3 separate regions of the Homo sapiens genome follow, and all the other regions are linked to region 1. The links are contacts of gene promoters, found by promoter capture Hi-C in blood cells and fetal thymus (Javierre and others, 2016). All regions are on one chromosome and are shown on one strand. The core of a region is centred on a gene start or on the middle of the fragment in contact, and the rest is flanking DNA. Distances in the headings are between cores, read along the strand shown.

What was found. The method cuts DNA at HindIII sites, captures the fragments that hold promoters and counts their contacts. A CHiCAGO score of 5 or more calls a contact.
Region 2: the fragment with the promoter of SLC9A3-OT1 here is called in contact with a fragment that was not itself captured in region 1 in 2 of 17 cell types (M2 macrophages and endothelial precursors); the score reaches 7.7 in M2 macrophages.
Region 3: a contact is called between the fragment with the promoter of CEP72 here and a fragment that was not itself captured in region 1, in 15 of 17 cell types (megakaryocytes, total B cells, naive CD4 T cells and 12 more). The highest score is 10.7, in megakaryocytes.

The regions. Positions count from the first base shown.
Region 1 is chr5:900,478-903,729 of GRCh38, reverse strand. TRIP13 (thyroid hormone receptor interactor 13) reads right to left here. Exons shown (of 13, transcript NM_004237.4): 4 at 3,181-3,236; 5 at 2,299-2,389. Among named protein-coding and RNA genes, the nearest start is that of TRIP13, 9.2 kb to the right of the region's middle. RefSeq lists a silencer at 342-636. The HindIII fragment of the contact is 227 bases long and covers 1,443-1,669 here.
Region 2 is chr5:471,390-474,641 of GRCh38, reverse strand. SLC9A3-OT1 (SLC9A3 3' UTR overlapping transcript 1) reads left to right here and starts at 1,677. Exons shown (of 2, transcript NR_024158.1): 1 at 1,677-1,963; 2 at 2,677-3,252. SLC9A3 (solute carrier family 9 member A3) reads left to right here. Exons shown (of 17, transcript NM_004174.4): 17 at 1,260-3,252. The coding sequence ends at 1,263. SLC9A3-AS1 (SLC9A3 antisense RNA 1) reads right to left here and starts at 1,406. Exons shown (of 7, transcript NR_125375.1): 1 at 1,243-1,406. RefSeq lists silencers at 699-1,518, 1,639-1,708, 2,069-2,198 and enhancers at 1,442-2,082, 2,083-2,725. The HindIII fragment of the contact is 27,849 bases long and covers 1-3,252 here.
Region 3 is chr5:610,763-614,014 of GRCh38, reverse strand. It overlaps CEP72 (centrosomal protein 72), which reads right to left and starts at 1,675. Exons shown (of 12, transcript NM_018140.4): 1 at 1,572-1,675. The coding sequence starts at 1,653. It overlaps CEP72-DT (CEP72 divergent transcript), which reads left to right and starts at 1,805. Exons shown (of 3, transcript NR_103444.1): 1 at 1,805-1,863; 2 at 2,262-2,568. RefSeq lists enhancers at 892-1,821, 1,822-2,752. The HindIII fragment of the contact is 7,839 bases long and covers 982-3,252 here.

The DNA.
Region 1 (3,252 bases), core at 307-2,806:
TGGAGGTGGAGGGGTCATGTGTTATTCCTGTTGCCCCCAGAACCACCCTCTTTCCTAAGACAATTCTCAGTGGGCTCATACCCCATACTAGAAGAGGCAGAGGCCAGCACTCTTCTTGCACGCCTGCCTGCCAAGCGTCCCCTAGCATGATGTGGGCGGCAAGCCACCCAGGTGCCGAGGCAAGAGACCGAGGGCACGAGCTGTTCCAGTATAATAAAATAAATAAAATAAGAATAATTATACTAGATATAGATCTTAGATATGATTATATATGAATATTAATCATTAATTTGTAGCAATTACTCTTTATTCCAATATTATAATAATCCTTGCTCTACAATCATAACCTAGGAAAAACCAGGCCATACAGAGATAGGAGCTGAGGGGACATAGTGAGAAGTGACTAGAAGACAAGAGTGCGAGCCTTCTGTTATGCCTGGACAGGGCCACCAGAGGGCTCCTTGGTCTAGCAGTAATGCCAGCGTCTGGGAAGAAGCCCGCTGCCAAGCTGACCGTGGTCTAATGGTAGCGTCAGTGTCAAGGAAAAACACCTGCTACTTAGCAGACCGGGAAAGGGAGTCTCCCTTTCCCCCGGGGAGTTTAGAGAAGACTCTACCCCTCCACCTCTTGTGGAGGGCCTGACATTAGTCAGACCCGCCCGCAGTCATCCAGAGGCCTGTCTCCCTGTGATGCTGTGCTTCAGTGGTCATGCTCCTAGTCCGCCTTCATGTTCCATCCTGTACACCTGGCTCTGCCTTTTAGCTAGCAGTAGCAAATTAGTGAAAGTACTAAAAGTCTCTGATATGCAGAAATAATGGTGTAAGCCGTCTCTCTGTTTCTCTTCTCTCTCTCTGCCTCAGCTGCCAGGCAGGGAAGGGTCCCCTGTCCAGTGGACACGTGACCCACGTGACCTTACCTATCAGTGGAGATGGCTCACACTCCTTACCCTGCCCCTTTGTCTTGTATCCAATATATATCAGCGCAGCCTGGCATTCGGGGCCACTACCGGTCTCCGCGTCTTGGTGGTAGTGGTCCCCCAGGCCCAGCTGTCTTTTATCTCTTTGTCTTGTGTCTTTATTTCTACACTCTCTCGTCTTTGCACATGGGGAGAAAACTCACCAACCCTGTGGGGCTGGACCCTACAAAAGATGCCTCACAGAAGCTGCGAGGTGACCAATATGGAAAAAGGAAAGCATCTAACAGAAAATGGAGACATACAACTCTAATTTTCTGCAGGTATTTTCAAGAATTAAAGAGGAAATACGTAACTGGTTCCAAACAGAAACAACTTATTTCACTAATTAAAACACCTGCTGCTTACTCTGACTGTGCTATGAGGGCAGTATGCGGGGCCTGTCTGCTCTTTAAAAGAACATTGTGTTTTAAGGTCACTTTGTCACGCAATCTTAACTGACTTAAAGAAGCCAAGTACCCTTCAAGCTTCTATTTAACACTTGGCTACAGTTTCATACTCTCGAGTCCACTCAATTCCCGTGTCCCCATTCTACCCGGTGATATTGACAACAAAACAAAACAAAACCAAACAACAAACCATCAGTATTTTCTCCTGAGAAGAACCAGACAGAATTTCTTTAAAATATGGCTTTTTCAGTTTACTCCTCACAAAGTAAAGCTCTGAGTACTACAAGCCTAATTTATAAGTTAAGCTTTATCATAGGAATGTCTGTAGGAAAAAATAGTCTACATAAGGTTTAGTATTATCCACGTTTGGGGCATCTGAGGATGTCTTGGAATGTGGCCCCCCACAGGAAGACTTGATTAAGTGCCGAGTAATCAATGCCCCAGGGGCCGCGCGCGGTGGCTCAAGCCTGTAATCCCAGCACTTTGGGAGGCTGAGGCGGGCGGATCACCTGAGGTCAGGAGTTTGAGACCAGCCTGGTCAACGTGGTGAAACCCCGTCTCTACTAAAAATACAAAACTTAGCTGGGTGTGGTGGCGCATGCCTGTAATCCCAGCTACTCGGGAGGCTGAGGTAGGAGAGTTGCTGGAACCTGGGAGGAACCCAGGAAGTGGAGGTTGCAGTGAGCCGAGATCGGGCCACTGCACTCCAGCCTGGTCGACAGCGAGACTCTGTCTCAAAAACAAAAACAAACAAACAAACAAAAAATGTCCCAAGTGTCATGAGCTGGATCTGCTTCACAGAGAGGGGACATTCTAGGACAGCTGTGGCTCCTTCAGAAAACAAAGAGCCGTAACTCCTTGCAGAAGGACGAAGGTACAAGTAAAGGCTAAATTTCATGCCACTTATCTGGTCAAATAAAAGCCTGCATAATTTACCGTGGAGCAGCACCACCCGGTTCCAGGTGATGAGGTTGCTGTTGACGTTCTTGTCTGAAAACAGTAAAGTTGTCATCACATAATCGAGGAGCTGATAGAGAAAAAGAAAAGAGCTTGACAAAGATACCAACAAGGCAAAGGTCCCCAAGAAATGTGCCCTCCCCCAGGGCTTAATCCTACATGAGAAGAGGGAGCACAGGGAGCGAGGCCGCCTCCTAAGAGATCATCACCTCCAAACGCTTTCATTTCAGAAGAGAAGGTGCTTCCAAAAGGGAAAAGGAAAAACACTGGCTATTACTATTATAAATATAAGAAGAGCAACAAAATGATCACTTTTATTTAAAGTGCCAACATTAAACAAAACCACTAAGGGGTTTGTTTATCAAGTAATGAGTAAGCTCCTTCCCTAGAATGATACAGCAGTTATTATTCGCAAAATAACAACAGCCACAATGCAGAGGAGCAGTCTGAGTGATAGTCTCAGACTATCAATGCAGAGGACAGCTGAGTGATAGTCTTCTAGCCAGCTGCTGGCATGGGAAAGACCCTTCCCGTTGAAGAGGGTGCAGGGGTTAAGACACACCGGCCTTTCCTTTGTGCGGACCAGGCTTGCTCACCTTCCCTCCTCCCATCTCCAGAGGGTTTAATTCTCTAAGTTGCCTTCACGTTCTCCCTTTCCCTCTTCTCCCTCAGGGAGCTCCTCAGAGACCAGCTCTACTCTGGAGCAATACTAGAGGATAGATGTCCAGGACAAGGGCTGCCAGCAGACAGGGGCTCCCAAAAACCCATCTGCATCAAGTTGCTCAGGGGTGTTGGAGAGCAAAACAGTAATGGTTCCTCTTCAAATAACAGGGCATTCTGGGAAAAGGCACAGCAACTTACATGGGATTTGACTTCCACATCGTATACCAAGCTGTCCCAAAGCCCATGGAATTCAGCTGTGACAGAATTAAA
Region 2 (3,252 bases), core at 428-2,927, 430 kb after region 1:
GCGCGCTGTCTCTCTCCTCCCTGGACCTGAACCTGGCTCTCTCCCTCCCCGCCTAACCCCTCTCCGCAGCTCCTCTCCCTCCAGGTCTCCGCCTCGCGCGCGCTGTCTCTCTCCTCCCTGGACCTGAACCTGGCTCGCTCTCTCTCTCTCCCCGCCTAACCCCTCTCCGCAGCTCCTCTCCTCCAGGTCTCCGCCTCGCGCGCGCTGTCTCTCTCCTCCCTGGACCTGAACCTGGTTCTCTCTCTCCCTCCCCGCCTAACCCCTCTCCGCAGCTCCTCTCCCTCCAGGTCTCCGCCTCGCGCGCGCTGTCTCTCTCCTCCCTGGACCTGAACCTGGCTCGCTCTCTCTCTCTCCCCGCCTAACCCCTCTCCGCAGCTCCTCTCCTCCAGGTCTCCGCCTCGCGCGCGCTGTCTCTCTCCTCCCTGGACCGGAACCTGGTTCTCTCTCTCCCTCCCCGCCTAACCCCTCTCCGCAGCTCCTCTCCCTCCAGGTCTCCGCCTCGCGCGCTCGCTCTCTCTCCTCCCTGGACCTGAACCTGGCGCGCTCTCTCTCTCCAGCAGCCCCTCTTCCTCCTCTAGCGCCCTGCTGGCCGCACCTCCCTCAGGAGCCCGGACAGAGATACTCTGGCGTCTCTGCTGCTCCCACGGAGCTGAGGGCACTAGGGCCGCCTGAGATTTCCTTTAGGTGGCTCCGAAAGCTAGTCCGCGAGTCCAAATCCTGCGCTCCCAGGGAGCTGAGAGCAGGGCTGGGGGAAGCCAGACAGACGCCCCGGGTCCCCGACCCTCTCACAGGGATACAGGGAGGGCCGGCCCCGCAGACCCGGACTCTGCCTCCAGCTCAGAGCAGGGAGAGGGGCGGGCCGTGGGGTCTGGGCTTTCTGAGCTCCCTCTGGGGGCCTGGGAGGCACCCGGGGGACGCCAGGGCGGTTTGAGATGGAGGAAGCAGGTCCCCTTGGGGACCTTGACCTCCCGCGCTGCAGGGCCTGGGGCGGGACCTTCCTGCGCCGAGGAGGCCGCTGTCCCGGGACCCCCGGCGGGGGGACGTGGCGGGGCCGGGCTGGGGCTTCGCTGTTGCTGCTTCCGCCTCTGCCCCGCGAACCCGGGTCCTGGGAGGAGGCCCCAGCGGACGCCGAGCCTGGGGTGCGCCGCGGGAGGGGAGGCGAGAGCCGCCGGGCTCGGGGACAGCTGAGGCCCCCGGGGACGCCCCTCCCGCCCCAGCGCCCGGGCTCCGCGCGCCGCTCACGCCTTCCTCTCCCGCAGGTGACACCGGCTCCGACACGCCGCTAACCGGCCGCTCGTCCCCGCGCCACGGTCCGCCCACCGCCGCCGCCGCTGTCCCAGAGAAACCCCAGATCCCCGCGCGGCTACAGCGACCGCGAGCCCCGAGCCCCGCCTCGCCCACGCCAGCGCCTGCGCAGAACTCCGAGAGTGCCGCGCCTGCGCCCGCAGAGCCGCCCGAGGGCGAGCCGGGGGCGGGGCCTGCGCCGGGGGCGGGGCCGGAGCGCCGAGGGCTGCCGAGTGCGCACGCGCGTTCGGCGGCGGCGCGCCGCGTGCACAGCCGGCGCTCGTTCCAGCGGCCTCGCGCGCGCCGCCGCCCCGCGCTGCTGAAGCTGGCGTCGCTGCCGCCCTCGTGCCACGCACCGCCGCACGCGCTGGAGCAGGAGGAGACGCCGCTGTGACGCCGCCGGCGGGAAGGGTCCGCGCGCCATGGCTGGCCGCTCGCGCCCTTTCCCACCGCTGCCGGGAAACCGAGGCTCGCCCCAAACGGATTTGCGTGAAACCAGCCCAAGGTTCCGGGCCCCCCCAACCGAGCCCCGCGCCCGGGGACTGACTCGGGGACCGACTCAGGGACCTCCCGAGCGCCAGGACTCAGGGCCCGACCTGCAGCGGCTGCAGGCCCAGCGCCCGCAAGCGGCCTGGGCCGAGCGCCGTTTCCAGGCCCTCGCCAGGTCTTTGAACTGCAGGTAAAGTGGCAGGAACGTCTTCCGTCTGCTCAGCGTTTGGGGATTTAGACTCCTAAAGCCAGTACCTGCCCCGTTTCCCCCCCAGGTTCCGTCCTGCCCGCGCCCGGTCTCAGGGTGGCGGCCCCGGACACGGCCCGTCCCCACAGACGAGGTCTCCGGCCTGAGCTGTCGCACCTGGCGCGGAGGTCGCCCGGGGTGCCCTGGCTGGGTGAGAGGTGGCCTGGCGGGCGGAGCTTGCCAAGAATCACGGCCAGTCCTTAAGTGGATGGTGGGGCCCAGCAGCTGCTCTGTCCCCCTTAACAAACCAGGGGGCATGGAGGGGCCCAGGGCACCGCCCCCCTACCAGGCTCAGGCCCTCCAAGGAGAACCTGCTGAGACCCCTGAGCCTGTCCTAGACCCCGGACCCCTGACCCTTCCCACCCCTTCCAGCGTCCCAGGGCGAGGCCTTGGACAGAGCTCCTGGTCCTCTGCAGGGAGACCATCCAGCCCAAGCTCTGGGAGGCACAGTCCATTGAGTGGGCGGAGGCCGCGGGTGCTGAGCCGGGGAGGGTGCTCGGAGTCCATCCATCCCTCAGACGGCAAGTCCCACAGGGTCCAACCCACCTGAAACCTGCCTGCACGGTGGAAGTGGTGGAGGTGGACACTCCTAGGGGCTTTTCTAAAGCTAGACTCGCAGCTCCTTGCTCAGGAAAATTAAACTATTCACGTTTCAGATCAAGTGTTGACAGTCACCAGTCAGGAGGAGTTCTTAAAGAGTTTTATGTTGACTGAATATTGCACATTGAGTCCCCATTGAGTCCCTGGTGGGAAAAGTCCACAATTTCCCATTGATAGCTTTTTACTGTTGTGAAAAAGGGAAGCGTCAGCCACACAAAAGCCTGCATGACCGCTGCTTCGGAGAAGCTCTCGACCCTAACTGCAGTCACTGTTACTTGGATCAGATCAAGCGCAGTGACTTTTTGGGATTCAGTGGTTATTCTCCACACTTCGTAGCCATTTCAACCAACTCTGAGCACAAAATGCAGCCATCCTCTATGCAGCAAGCCCTGCCCAGTCAGTGACCCTACTGGACAGATCCAAGGCCAGCCCTGGTTCCCTGCTGCAGCCACCGTCCTGACGTTCATCGGAGCAGGCCGGGGCCTGGCCTTCCCGGCACAAGTGGCTGTTCTGACAGGCCCCCAGTTTGTCCCATCTGAACTGCTGGGAGGTTTCCGGGTGGCCAGAGGAGCAAAGCTGCCTTCCAAGTGCCTGTCTGTGCCTGGGAGAACAGAGCAGGAGCGTCGTGCGGT
Region 3 (3,252 bases), core at 426-2,925, 290 kb after region 1:
AAGGGAGGACTCGGCATGTCCCGAGGTCAGCTGCCCTCTCACCTGCTTCCTCAGAGCCCTGTGGTGCCTACTGCCTCAGGATCACTTGGATTTTGTCACGAGGTTACAGTTCCCCTTAACCACTCTACAGATAATAACCTGGACATTATAAACCGTTAAGTTTTCCATTTGAGATATTCTTTCAGGACCTGGGGACTGATGCCAGCTGGTCTAAAGGGCCCCGCAAGCGGATTCACCAAAGAATGCAGTTTCCACACCCTGATAATTCCATGGCCCTTACCTCCACCAACTGACAACACCAATCTTCCAGCTCCTCACAGTCCTGTTCCTCTAAAACCCCCAGCTCAGGCTGGGTGTAGGTGGCTCATGCCTGTAATCCCAGCACTTTGGGAGGCCAAGGCAGGTGGATCACCTGAGATCAGGAGTTCAAGACCAGCCTGGCCAACATGGTGAAACCCCGTCTCTACTAAAAATATAAAAAATTAGCCGGGCATGGTGGCGCGTGCTTGTAATCCCAGCTACTCAGGAGGCTGAGTGAATCACTTGAACCTGGGAGGTGGAGGTTGCAGTGAGCTGAGATTGTGCCACTGCACTCCAACCTGGACGACAGAGTGAGACTCCGTCTAAAAAAAAAAAACCGCTCAGATCTCCTTGGGGAGATGGATTGAGGCCTCCTTCCACCTCCCTGCTGGGCCCCTGCCAGCCTTAAACTCTTTCTCTGCTGCAAACCCCACTGTCTCAGTGTATTGGCCTGTGGCCCCCACAGCACCTGACTGAACCTGTTGGTCCAGTAACACCTGCAGACCACACACAGACATTAACAGGCTAACAACAGAACACCAGAAACAACTCAACACACACACTCCACAAGTTAGCTCAAATAAGCCAATGCCACAAAACCCCACACAGCCAAGACTCGCGGTGAACTAATATGAACGGTTCTCTAACAACCAGAGATACAGAATTTGTCATTTAAAAGCTTCAAAAACAGAAATTGACATGTCCATATGGTTTCACTGGAAAATTCCAGGAAACATTCAAACAATGAGCACACACTCTACAGAACCTCTTCTAAATATAAGAGAAGGCAACACTTCTCAGCAGTTTATGAGCTCGGCTTCACCTTGACGCCAAAACCAGACAAAAATAAGCCAAAAAGAAGGAAACCGGCCACCAACATCCTCAAGAAGGCCGAGCGCAACAATCACCACAGAGTGGGCCCAGGAGAACCAGGGAGGTGATCCCCAGCGGGAGGGCGGGCTGCGCTCCTGGACAGCAAGGCCGGCTCCCTCTTCTCAGCGGATGTAACCCCCAGTCACGGAACCAGTGACCCGATAGACAGGCAGGGGCCGGGACGCCGGGACCCGAACGCGGGCAGGGGCCGCACCTGGGCACGGGGGGTGGGTCGCTCACCTGGACACGCGCGCCCCGCTCGCCCGCGACCGTTCCGGACGCCCGCGGCGCCTGCGTAGACGGGTCCCGCCTGCCCACGGTCCGCCGCCGCCCCGGGAAGCTCGGCACCCACCCCCCCGCCACCTCACGCTTGCACCCCCGCCCGCCCTCCGGCGCACCCAGGTCGCGGTGAGGCCCTAAGCCGCTCTTCGCCCGAACCGCCTCCTCGCTCAGCACCAGCCGAGGGCCAGCCCGCGCCATGTTTCAAACGGAGCCCTCGGACGGCGCCTGCGCGGCGGGCGGGGCGAGGCTACGAGAGGGGCGGGACCTGCGTCGGCAGAACCGAGAGCCTGGCGGGACGGGGCGGGGCCTGCGCGGCGGGGCGAGGGGCGTGGCTGGGGGAGGGGGCGGGACTGCGTGGGCGGAACCAAGAGCCTGGCGGGGGGTTCTCCTGAATGGCGGTTCTCCCAGGTACTGGCCACGCGACCCCAGCCCCCGCCCCAGATAGCTCCCTGTCAAGGCTTCCCTGGGCGCGGCCGCCTTCTAGGCCCCGGCCCTTGACACACGCGGTGTCCTCCCGGGGAAACCCCGAGTAGGCGCGGTGGAATCGCGGCTGGTGGTGGGCATGGGGACCCTGCCCCATCCACACTCCGCTCCCACCCTGAACCCAGCGCCCCCGGGGACCCCCGACTCACCTAGACTCCCCACCCAACCCGACCCCCCCGCGGGGACCCCTCCAGACACCCCAGCACCCGCCCGGAGCCTTGTCTGCTGCACCTCCCGTCCAGCCCCGGGCCTCCCAGAGGTGGGCGGGAGCTGAGCTTCTCCCCAGCCAGTCACTCCCCACGGCCGGTCCTTCTCCACCCCAGAACCTCCAGAGATGTCACAGGCCCAGCACTGTGGCTCGTGGCTGACCGCGCCCTGGAGGGTCTCGCTGTGTTTATCCTTGTGAGGTCCTTCTACAGAGCTTTCAAGGAAGACAGAGTTCAGCCTGTTTATTGGGAAGACTTTAATCCTGCTCAAGACATCTACTGTGTCACCGTACCACTGTGGCCCAGCGCCTGGTGGAGTGAATCCAGACCCCCAGGGGTGTCCCCTCCCCGCCTTTCTCCTGGTGTCTAGGGGCACCCAGAAACCCTCACCCCAGATTAGACCAGCTCGTTGGCAACATCCCTGGTATGTCACAGCCTGGGGGGTGATAGACAAGGCAGGGTAGTGGTGGGGGGTACGTATGGTGGTAGTAGACGAGGGTATACACAGACAGAGGGTGTACATGGGGAATGTGTGCAGGGGCTGTGTGCAGGGAGTGTGTGTGGATGGTGTAGGGGAGTGTGTAGGGGAGTGTGTAGGGGGTGTGTGCAGAGGTTGTACACGGGGTGTGCAGGAGGTGTACTCAGAATGTGTTCAGGGAGTGTGTGCAGAAGGTGTACATGGGGTGTATGCAGGAGGAGTGTGCAGAGGGTGTACATGTAGGGGGTGTGTGCAGACAGTATACAGAAGGGGTGTGTGCAGAGGATGCACACAGGGTCTCTGCAGGGAGTATGTGCAGTGCTGTACATAAGGAGTATGCAGGGGGTATATACAGGGTGTATGTGCAAGGGGTGTGTGCAACAGTGTGTGCAGGAGGTGTGTGCAGGGTCTATGTGTGGGGGTGTGTGCAACAGTGTGTGCAGGAGGTGTGTGCAGGAGGTGTGTGCAGGAGCTATGTGTGGGGGTGTGTGCAACAGTATGTGCAGAGGTGTGTGTAGGGGCTATGTGTGGGGGTGTGTGCAACAGTGTGTGCAGGAGGTGTGTGCAGGAGGTGTGTGCAACAGTGTGCAGGGGGTGTACACAAGGTGTGTGCAGGAGGTGTGTGTAGAT